Regions from separate parts of the Homo sapiens genome. Here region 1 is linked to region 2. Evidence: promoter capture Hi-C in 16 types of primary human blood cells and fetal thymus (Javierre and others, 2016). All regions are on one chromosome and are shown on one strand. The core of a region is centred on a gene start or on the middle of the fragment in contact, and the rest is flanking DNA. Distances in the headings are between cores, read along the strand shown. Region 1 has its middle 30 kb from the start of CCDC59. Region 2 holds the start of PPFIA2 (PPFI scaffold protein A2).

Region 1 (5,440 bases), core at 339-2,838, 570 kb after region 2:
TCAAAATTTAATTATTGCTGTACTATGTATAGCATATAGTTGAGAAATTTTAGTTTTAAAATAAATTTTAAAACCTTTATCAACACATTATTATACCTTTAAATATTCAATTTTATTTATAATATATTGTGTTTCATAAAATAAATTACACATCACAATATTATATAAATAAATCTATATAGGCTTATTTCAGAGATACTGTGGGTTCAGTGCCAGATCACCACAATAAAGTATATATGGTAATAAAGTGAGTCACATGAATCTTTTGGTTTCCCAGTGCATATAAAAATTATGTTTACACTATACTGTAGTCTATTAACTGTGCAAAAGCATTATGTCTAAAAAAACCCAATGTATATACCTTAATTTAAATATACTTTATTGCTAAAAAAATGCTAGTGATCATCTGAGCCTTCAGGAAGTCGTAATCTTTTTGTCAGTGGAGAGTCTTGCCTCGATGTTGATGGCTGCTGGCTAATTAAGGTGGTGGTTGCTAACGGTTGGGATGGCTGTGGCAATTTCTCAAAATAAGACAATAACAATGAAGTTTGCCTCATCAACCAATTTTTCTCTTCAGAAAAGATTTCTCTGTAGCCTGTAGCATGCAATGCTGTTTGATAGCATTCTACCCACAGTAGAAGCACAATAAAGCGAAGGGCAATAAAGTGAGGTATGCCTGTATATATACACACATACACACACACACAGCAGATAATATATATAGAAAACAAACAGAACAAAATCTAGAACAAAAATGAAATGGATATATCAAACTCAGAATAATAGACTTACTTTGATAGAGCATTAAATTTAACACTAAGCTTCCTGACTTAAATAATATCTGATACAACAAAATCAGGTCTACCTCTGCTATCACATAACAAGCAGCCCACAGGGCTTTTGTAACCTTTGCTTGATTGAATTACTGTCACCGAGAAGTTCAGTGAAGCATTTTCTGCTTCCTAGCAGTCTCCATCATTCTAGTATTTATAAATAGCAAAGAGCAGCAGGCTGCAAACAAAACTTCCATTGGAATAACATATCCAAGATTAGTTCATTTATAAAGTTCCTGCTAAATAGTCAATCCCCTTTTAGCTGATCATGTTTTCATCCTTTTCTAATTTCCTACACTTGAAGGGGAAAAGCACTTAAAAATATTTAGAGGTATTATTCATTCAAGGTTTTCTTCTGTTTCTATGTATATTCTTACATTTGAAAACTATGCTCATGTGATCAAATAAGACAAAAGAATATATATTTATATATATTTATTAACTATTTTACAGTCTTCTGATTTTTTTCTGACTTTGGTCATAAAAGGTAAGTAGAAATCACATTTACTATACTCATTTCAATTTTATGTTATCTGCACTGTGTACATAAACTAAATATATGCCAAAAATTTCCCTCCTTCAAAAGGAAATTTAGATTCATTCCTAAATGATTTGACTTTTGGAGGGCTATAAATATATAGGCACTTTTTGATTATGTATGTGTAAACTTTGACCAATCAAGATATTTGAGTGAATATTTTGAATTCTTAACTTTATTCCATTAATCAGTAAAAGAATATATTCTTAAACAATTTGTAATTCCTCACTAGTAAAACAGTGCCTTGAACTCCCTCTGCTGGCCTTATAAGGGTAGTTTAACTTTAAAAAGTCATTCACATATTTGTATAATAATCTAGCATCGAAAAACAGAAACACTTTATATGTTGCATAATGACTTCAACTATAATAAAAATTCAAGTTAAAATATACTTATCCTCTTTTAACCCTAAAAAATACAGCTTATATCATAAAAAGTGATACTGAAAGGCTATTACTATAATATAAAATCACAATAATCAAAATAGTCTGAGGCCTGGAACTCCCAGCCTCAAGCAATCCCTCCACCTCAACACTCCAAAGTGCTGGGATGATACACATCATATGTCTGTATCAAAATATCTCATATACCCCATTACTACATACACCTATATACTCACCAAAATTAAAATTGAAAAAAAAAAAAAAACAGAAGCAGGCACAGGAAAAATTAAAAAAGAAAGAAAAAGATCAGTGTAAAGAGTAGAGCATCCAAAAGAGTGTGTTAGGAATTTAAGGAATTGTTACAAGCATGACAATTGAATCAAGTTGGGAATTAGGAGTTTATCAATCAATGTATACTTAAATACTTGGTCATATTTCGAAAATAAAACAAAGATATATATTGACTTCATACTCTAAACCAAAATAAACTCCAGACGGAATTTTAAAAATTTAAATATAAACATTAAATTAATATAATCATTGCAACAATATTTTGAAGAATTTCCTATCTTTAGATGGGAAAGTTCTTTCTAAAAAACAGGAAGCTTAGCAGTGATAAGGGAAAAATAGTCATATTTATCTACACACATATTTTCATAAAAGGAAAACACCATAAACAACATCAAAGGCAAATGATTGGGGCAAATATTGCAACAGATATGATAGATAAAGGCATAAATTCCCTACTACACAAAAAGCTTCTATAAATTGGTGAGAAATAGAAAAGGAACTCAATAGAAAAATAAGCAAAGACTTATGCTAAGGAAATTCACAAAAGAAATCTAAAGAGTCAATAAACATACAAAATCCTGCTTGTCCTCACTAATAGTCAAGGAGAATAAAAGTAAAATGCACAGTGAGGATTACAAGTCATTAACGGGATACTTAAGCCTTGGGCTAATTGGCAAAAATTCAAAATATAACAACATCCAGTGCAAGTTGCTGCAATCATTTAAAAAATATTTCGGCAATATCAATAAATCAAAGACACACACACACACACAGGCACACAACATTTGCTGAAGTAATTTCACTTGGTGAATATCGCCAATGAAAACAAAGTACCAACACCAAAGGACATGCATCTGGTGACACGTAATGTAATTTGTTTGTAATGGCAAAAAATAGGAAACATTCTAATAGTAATCAAATATAAAATACTTGAATACATTTTAGTACATTTTATTATATAATTATTTAAATAAAATATATAATATATACATATTTGTCAGAAAGAAATATGTATTGCTAATGATGAATCATTAAGATGAACCATGATAAATAATTTTAAAAAGCAGTCACAACAATATGGCATTTGTATATGATTTTTCATGTTTGGGTCAGCATAAAAGAAGTTGTGGAAGGAAAGGACTAGGCCCTTTATAGCAGCTATCAATGAGGTAGGAATGGAGAGGGTGGGGGGAAATTTTAATTTTTTTATATACATTTTTGAACTTTTTTACTAATTAAAATAGGTATTAATATTTTTTATAATTGGACATCTTAATAAAAATTAAAATTCAAAGATAGACAGCTAAAATGAGGTATTCCTATATATCTTTCAGGACATAAGGTTTGTTCTGTACATTTTAGGTCATAGGCTCTATCATAATTCCTCTTTATTTTTCGTTTATTACCCCCAAAAGGTAAAAGAAATGCTAACCTTCCAGCAGTCATGTCCATGAAATTCAGGTGCGGAGAGGAGAGAGGCAGCAGGGGAATTTTCCAGCACTCATACTTCAGAAAACTCCCCAATGGATGTTGAAAACCACCTCTTCAAAGCCCACCCTGTGCTCAGAGCAACGGCTTTACATATTAGGTAAATGATAAAACGTTCTCCCCACTTGTTTTCCACAGGTTTCATTAGGGGCTGGCTGTGATCACCTGTGACAGCAATACTGATTCCCAATATAGTTTCAAAATTATGCCAGAAAAGTAGTGCAATATTTTTTTTCCTCAACCTTGGCTGCACCTTAAAATAAATTAGAGAATAAACAAAGAAAAAATATTGTGCTCAAGTTGATTGAATCAAAATCTTGGAGATAGGCATTGGTTCTCCTGTGCTGTTTTTTGTTTGTTTTTTGTTTTTCGTTTTCTTTTTTTTTTTGAAGCTCTTCAGGTGATTCAAAAGCACAGTGAGTGTTGGGAAACATTAACAGGGTAAGGGTCTCAAGCCTGGTGCTAAGGTGGTAATTGGAATCTATTTTTTCAAGTTTCTGCCCATTTTGGGAGCAAAGGAATTAACTGCTTTTTTATTTCAGACTACCTTTTTTTTTAAGGACTATTTGTATAGTGAACAGCGCTGAGAGAGCTGAGAGTAGGTTTGTTTACTGTCTAATATAATAAAGACAATGCCTCCCTCTGGGTCAAAGGTTGGGCAAATCACAAAAGATACAGATTTTCTAAGCTCAGAGTTCCCCTGCTGTGATAAAAACCTACTGCATTTATAGCATCCAGCTGGCCTTTATTGAAGAACCCTGTGGGGATCAGGTTTCAGGGGACTGGTGAAAAAAAATGATAATACTCTGGCTACTGCTATTGTTGTAAATAGTAAACTGTTCTCTGTCTTTGAGTCAAGAATCTTGTCTCTTCTACCAGTATTCATAAAATGTGGAGGCTAATTTGTTAGCTTGCAAGTTGGGTAAAATCTCAGACCCTTTGCAGTTTTTGACAGAAAGTTCCAGTTTCTCCATAACCACAGCCACCCTTCATATCATCTCGGCCATTCTAAGAGATATGGTTTTAATTCACATTTCCCTGATAACGAATGATACAAGGCATATTTTCCTGTGCTTGTTGCCATCTATATATTTTCTTTGGTGATGTGTATCTTCAGATCGTTGGCCCCATTTTACAATGGATTGTTTGTTTTCTTGTTATTGAGTTTTAAGATGTATATATTTTGGAAGCAAGTCCTTTGTCAGATAGGTAATGTGCAAATACTTTCTCCCAGTCTGTGGCTTGTGTTTCCATTTTCTTAATGATGCCTTTCAAAGAACAGAAGTTTTTTTATGTTGACGAAGTCATAGTTATCAATGTTTTACTTTATGCATCATATTTTTTTTTTTTTGACGGAGTCTCGCTTTTTTGCCAGGCTGGAGTGCAGTGGCGTGATCTCTGTTCACTGCAACCTCCACCTCCCGGGTTCAAGCGATTCTCCTGCCTCAGCCTCCCGAGTAGCTGGGACTACAGGCGCGTGCCACCACACCCAGCTAATTTTTGTATTCTTAGTAGAGATGGGGGTTTCACCATGTTGGCCAGGATGGTCTCGATTTCTTGACCTCGTGATCTGCTCACCTGGGCCTCCCAAAGTGCTGGGATTACAGGCATGAGCCACTGCGCCCAGCCTACATATCATAGTTTAATCTAAGTAACCTTTTCCTAAGTCAAAATCACAAAGATTCATCTAGAAATATATTTTTAGCTTTTATATTTAGAACTATGAATCATTTTAAGTTTTATACAGGCCAAAGTTCTTTTATTTCTGTATATGAATATTGCAGAATTGAATATTTCATATGAACATTGATTAACCACCATGCATTGAAAGGATAATGCTTTTCCTCCTGAATTACCTTGTTAACAATGAAAAAAATTGATTGACTGTACATGGGTTTATTCTGGAC
Region 2 (4,886 bases), core at 2,189-4,688:
AAACTGTTTCTTGCATTTATCTCAATTTGATTTTCATTCAAAGACTATCACAAAGATGGAAAATACAGACTCTTTTTAGATGCTTCAAATTTTCTTTATATTAATTGAAAAGGAATTGGAAAACAACAAAAAGTGTTCCAACACATTTGATTATTTAAAACGATTAGTTAGCAGGCCATGCATGAAACCTACACATTGAGCCGCTATGTCATTCTGAGAAATGATTACCAGGAGCCAATATGTTTACTTTTGACATTTAAGGTTAAAACAAAGTACTGGGAGAGCAAATCATAGCATCATGACAATTTGTGCCCAAACACTCACAACGTTAGGGTTACCTATAGATTTAAATTCTTAAATCTATATTTTAAATTACGTCCTTCTTGAATGAAAGTTATTAATCCCTTTCCACCCTGAATCACTCAGAACAACTTTAAATTCCAAGGCAAAGCATAACAGCAGTGAATACCCCAATATAATTTTCACCTGAAAATAATATCCTAACAATCCCTCATTGTTACCATGGGATATAAACATTCACAAACTTTAGGGTCTTAAATCAACATTAAAGGTAGTCTTCGATTTAGTCAAAAGATGCTATGATGAAAAGTGGCTTAGGGACTTAGAAAGTCTATTAAATCTACACTCAAAAGAACTTGATTTGATTCCACTCCTAAGGCAGGTGAACCAGGACAAGTTACTTTACATGTTAAAACTTTAGTTCTCTCTTTCATGAAAGAGGGCCAATAATCTATGCTTAGAGGAAAAAAAAGAAAATATATAATAGGTTACCTGACTGAGAACACACAGCAAAACATATAAAGGGCAATTACAAATGTAAGTATTAATTTCTATTATAAAGTGATCAACATTAATCTTTGTAGAAACAATATTTTACCTTTACGACTCATTCTGCTGCTGTAAAGGTTTAATTCTAGTAGATACTTTTGAACTCTTCAAATCCAATTTATAAAAATCAAATTATGCAAAATTTACTTAGGAAATAAGATGAATATATGCTGCTTATACCTTGCAGTCAACCCAAATGAGTAAATCCAAAGTCTTCTTATCAAAATTAGAAAAAAATAGTCTACAAAAAAATAAGGCCACTTTCATGAACTAGCTTAGTTTCTTTCATTAGAATTCAGATTCTAACATAAATTACAAAATATTTGATTAATCCTTAAAATGCAGTATAACATTTCTTAAATGCACATTTTGCACATTTTAAGTATTAAAAGCAATTAAAGATATATATTCAATATAAGAGTTAAACACCCTTTTAAAAAATGGATGACATCTGAAGCAGCTTGCACAGTCCGGAAGGCTATGGTCATTCAATGTCTAGTGCGTTTCACCCAGATACATCACTTTTAACTTTTATAATCAGTATCAATACTAAAAACTGCATTCATCACATAATTTCTGAAAAGCCAGAAAGGGCATTTTAACAATTTGCCTTGATATTTGCTTTTTCATCATTCCCCCCTCAAAGTCAATTTGATATATAAATTATGTTATCTTCATCTAGATATTGATGCTTTCCTCATTAAATTACTGAAGGTTTTGAAACCTAGTCAGAGACATTGTTAATTTTGTTGAGAAAGAAAAAAAGTAATAATAAATCTGATTGGCTTAATTATCCCAGTGCTTAAATTTAGCCGGAAGAATTTTATATCAGGAAAATAACTCCTTTATTCTTAGCACATAGCCTTGACTGTCTTTTAAATTTCTCAGATTTCAAAATAAAAGTTTGAATGCCCACTGGAGTCCTCACTCAAGGGCTTTCAAGATCCAATGTGTTCCTTAACAATATATGCCATCCAAGCAGTACCTCTTCAGATATGAGAGTGCTACAAAAAGCTTTTTTTCTTTTTTCTGTCAACAAATGACTTTATTTAATCATATCACTAGGAATTCGGCCCTACTAGAGGTAAGAATGTAATTATTATCCATAGTGAGTTTCTTCTGAAAACATTTAGTCTTAAGAACCATCCCAGCTCCACCTCAGTTAACCTACAAGGAGTAATTCAGTGAGAGAAATCCTAGCCATTGTCTGATTACATTACATGAATATTCTCCCTCCTATTTAACTCTTTGAAAGCCTCTGTCCTCGGGAAATATGATTATCACCTTTAATGGACACATTTTACACTTTCTTTACCCTAGTGCATTTACGGACAGCCAGAGCCAGCTCAACCCACACTACTGGACAGTTATCTCTCAGCCACACCCCCCACCACCTTGAAGAAGTTGACTTCATCATTTCCACACTAAAATTGTTCATCCTGCCCAACAGGACACAGCCAAGTAGGCAGGAGGTAGAGAGATAGGAGATGGAGAGGATGAGGTGAAAGCAAAAGGCACCTAACGGTAATCAACAAGGAGGAATTTGCATCTCATCTTCCCTGGGGGCGGGGTGGGGCCGGGGAGGTGGTCAAAAAATACAGCGAAAGGAGACAGTAAAACTCAAAGACAGCTTCTGTACCTAATGTCTGTGATTTCGGGTCCTTGCTTCTTCAATTGATCAATGACAACCGCAGTCTCCGGCTTGAGGAGAAGGGAGGCTCACACCCAGCACTCCTGGACCATTTCCCTAGCAACGGGAGGAGAAAGGCAGCTCAGACACACGCGTGCCCCGGCGCCCTCCCGGAACGTGCCCCGGCCCGGTGGCGTGGCAGGAGCTCGGCATCTTCCCGTGGCTCCGTCAGCAGCCAAAAGGAGAAGCGTCCATCGGAAAAATGGCATATTACAAATTTTGCTTTGGGAAGCAAAGCTCGGTTCAGACCATTGTCAAAGGAGGAGAGGGGGAGGCGGCTCTTAAAGCAGCCGCGGCCCCTTTGCCAGAACAGCCGCAGCTCCCCGCGTGCAGCTGGAGCCCCGGGGCGGAGACCGGAGACCGGGGACTGGGTTTGACTTTCAGAAACTTAACCACGCGGCGCCGCTCCCCCTCCGCGCCCGGGCCACCCGGGGTGTGTGGGGCGTCCCTCCAAAAGAAAGCTTGGAGAAAAGGCGTGAGAAGTATCTGGGAGAGAAGTTCTCCACCCAGTCTCCCCTCCTGGAGCCCCTCTGGAGTTTAAGGCTAACCCTGGGAGTTAGAAACCTAAAGGAAAACGAGTCCCTAGGGATGCAAAAAGCAGGACAGGTCTCCTCCTGGCCCCCAGCCTGTTTCCGCGCGCTCCCGTGTCTCGTTTCACTTAAAGGAGGCGCTTTTTCTCTGGAAAGGCAAACATCACCCCACGCCGTCCCCCGGCCCCCCTTCCCTCCCCCCCGCCGCCCCCCCGCCGCCACAGCACACACACCCATTTTTCTCCTCCCGGCCTTTCTGCAAGCCTCTTTGCTTGCTTCAATTGGCCGGAAGAACCAACCTGCTGGCAGCCGGTGAGGACGCTACAGCATCTTCTCTCCTCACTTGCCTCGTGCGGTGGCTGCTACTCCTCCTCCTCCGTCTCCTCCCCTCCTCCTCCTTGGCAGCCACCACCTCCTCTTCCTCTGGAACAAGGGCTTCCCCTGGAAGCTGCTGCAGTGGTTTCCACCGGCCCTTAAATAAATTCTGAAGTAATCACGTCTTTGCTCTCCTCCTCACGCACACGCGCCCGCGGATACACTCGTCTCCCCCAGAGCCGCTCCCGGGCTGCCGAGGCTCGCTCTGCTCCCAGTGCCCCCTGCGAAGGCGAGGGCCAGGGATGGGCAAAGTGGGAAGGGGGCACACGCTTCCCCGCCTGGGCTTCTTTCACACAATGGGCTCTACAGCCTTCGCTTGTGTCAGCCTGCGCTGGTGGGGATGGGAACGGACTTGGGCACCTTTTGGCTCCCCGGTCTTCTGTGCTTGTCATTTCTTTAAGCAGCTTTCTTCCCACTGGGCCAGGGCATGGTAGTCATGGTTGTAGGGACCTGAGCCAATCTAGGGTGTGGCGGCATCTGTCATTTCTCATTACCTCTTCAGTTCTTCTTCATTCATATTGTTTTGGTAATGGGAATTGTATGTTAAGTATTCCCTGCCCGAGTAAATTTTAGCTTTGAGCAGAGTCTGGTCTCTCCATCGCGCTCCAGTCCCCCTTATATCTCCACCTCCCTTTACCTACCCTCTTTTCTTTCCGTTGCTGCTGTCCATTCATACAGACTGAGGAAGCAGGAGACAAAATCAGTACCTACTCTGAGCAGAAAGGGAACGTTTCTGTGAGGGAGAGTCACGAATCCTGCTGGGTTTGGTGAAAATGAAGAGGACATGCATGAAGGAATTGGAGGATTAAACACTGAATATATTTTGGGGGTTACTGAAAATATTCTGAGTGTGCTACACGAAAGCCAAAAGACGTGTTTTACTTTTGTGTAACGCCAAGAGTCCAAAGTTAACAAAGAACTAGTATGTAAATAACTGTTCACTTAAAATTAACTACAATATCCAAGAAACAATCTTTGTTTCTGAGGGAAGTATTTAATTCAGTTAGCGACTTTACAATGGAAAGTGGGGTAAAGCTCATGTATTTACCCAACTTCTATTCTAGACTGTTATTTAAATTTTACAACACAACACAATCCTATAAGAAGTATAAAAATAATACGAAAATTCATTAGATGTCAACTGGAGCACTATTTCTCAGACATAATGTGCATACAGATCATCCATGGATCTTGTTAAGTTGTAGATACTGATTCACCAGGAATGGGGTGAAACCTGAAATTCTACCCTTCTAATGACTCCCAGATGGTACTACACTTGAGGAGGAAGGGTCTAGACCACCCAATCGACCCACAATTTGATGTGGCTTAAATACCCCTAACTACAGGAAACTCTTCACCTCACAGGATAGCCTAGTCTATTTTCAGACAAACTTCATATTGTAATAGCTTCAACATACTAATCATATATCAGTACTCATAAC

Evidence for each region. Contacts are between HindIII fragments. The CHiCAGO score rates a contact against its expected background, and 5 or more counts as called.
Region 1: a fragment that was not itself captured here is called in contact with the fragment with the promoter of PPFIA2 in region 2 in 1 of 17 cell types (M1 macrophages); the score reaches 5.9 in M1 macrophages.

Annotation. Positions count from the first base shown.
Region 1 is chr12:82,325,483-82,330,922 of GRCh38, forward strand. No RefSeq gene overlaps it. Among named protein-coding and RNA genes, the nearest start is that of CCDC59, 30 kb to the right of the region's middle. The HindIII fragment of the contact is 1,538 bases long and covers 820-2,357 here.
Region 2 is chr12:81,755,912-81,760,797 of GRCh38, forward strand. PPFIA2 (PPFI scaffold protein A2) reads right to left here and starts at 3,439. Exons shown (of 33, transcript NM_003625.5): 1 at 3,369-3,439; 2 at 2,489-2,596. RefSeq lists an enhancer at 2,299-3,237. The HindIII fragment of the contact is 5,625 bases long and covers 2,999-4,886 here.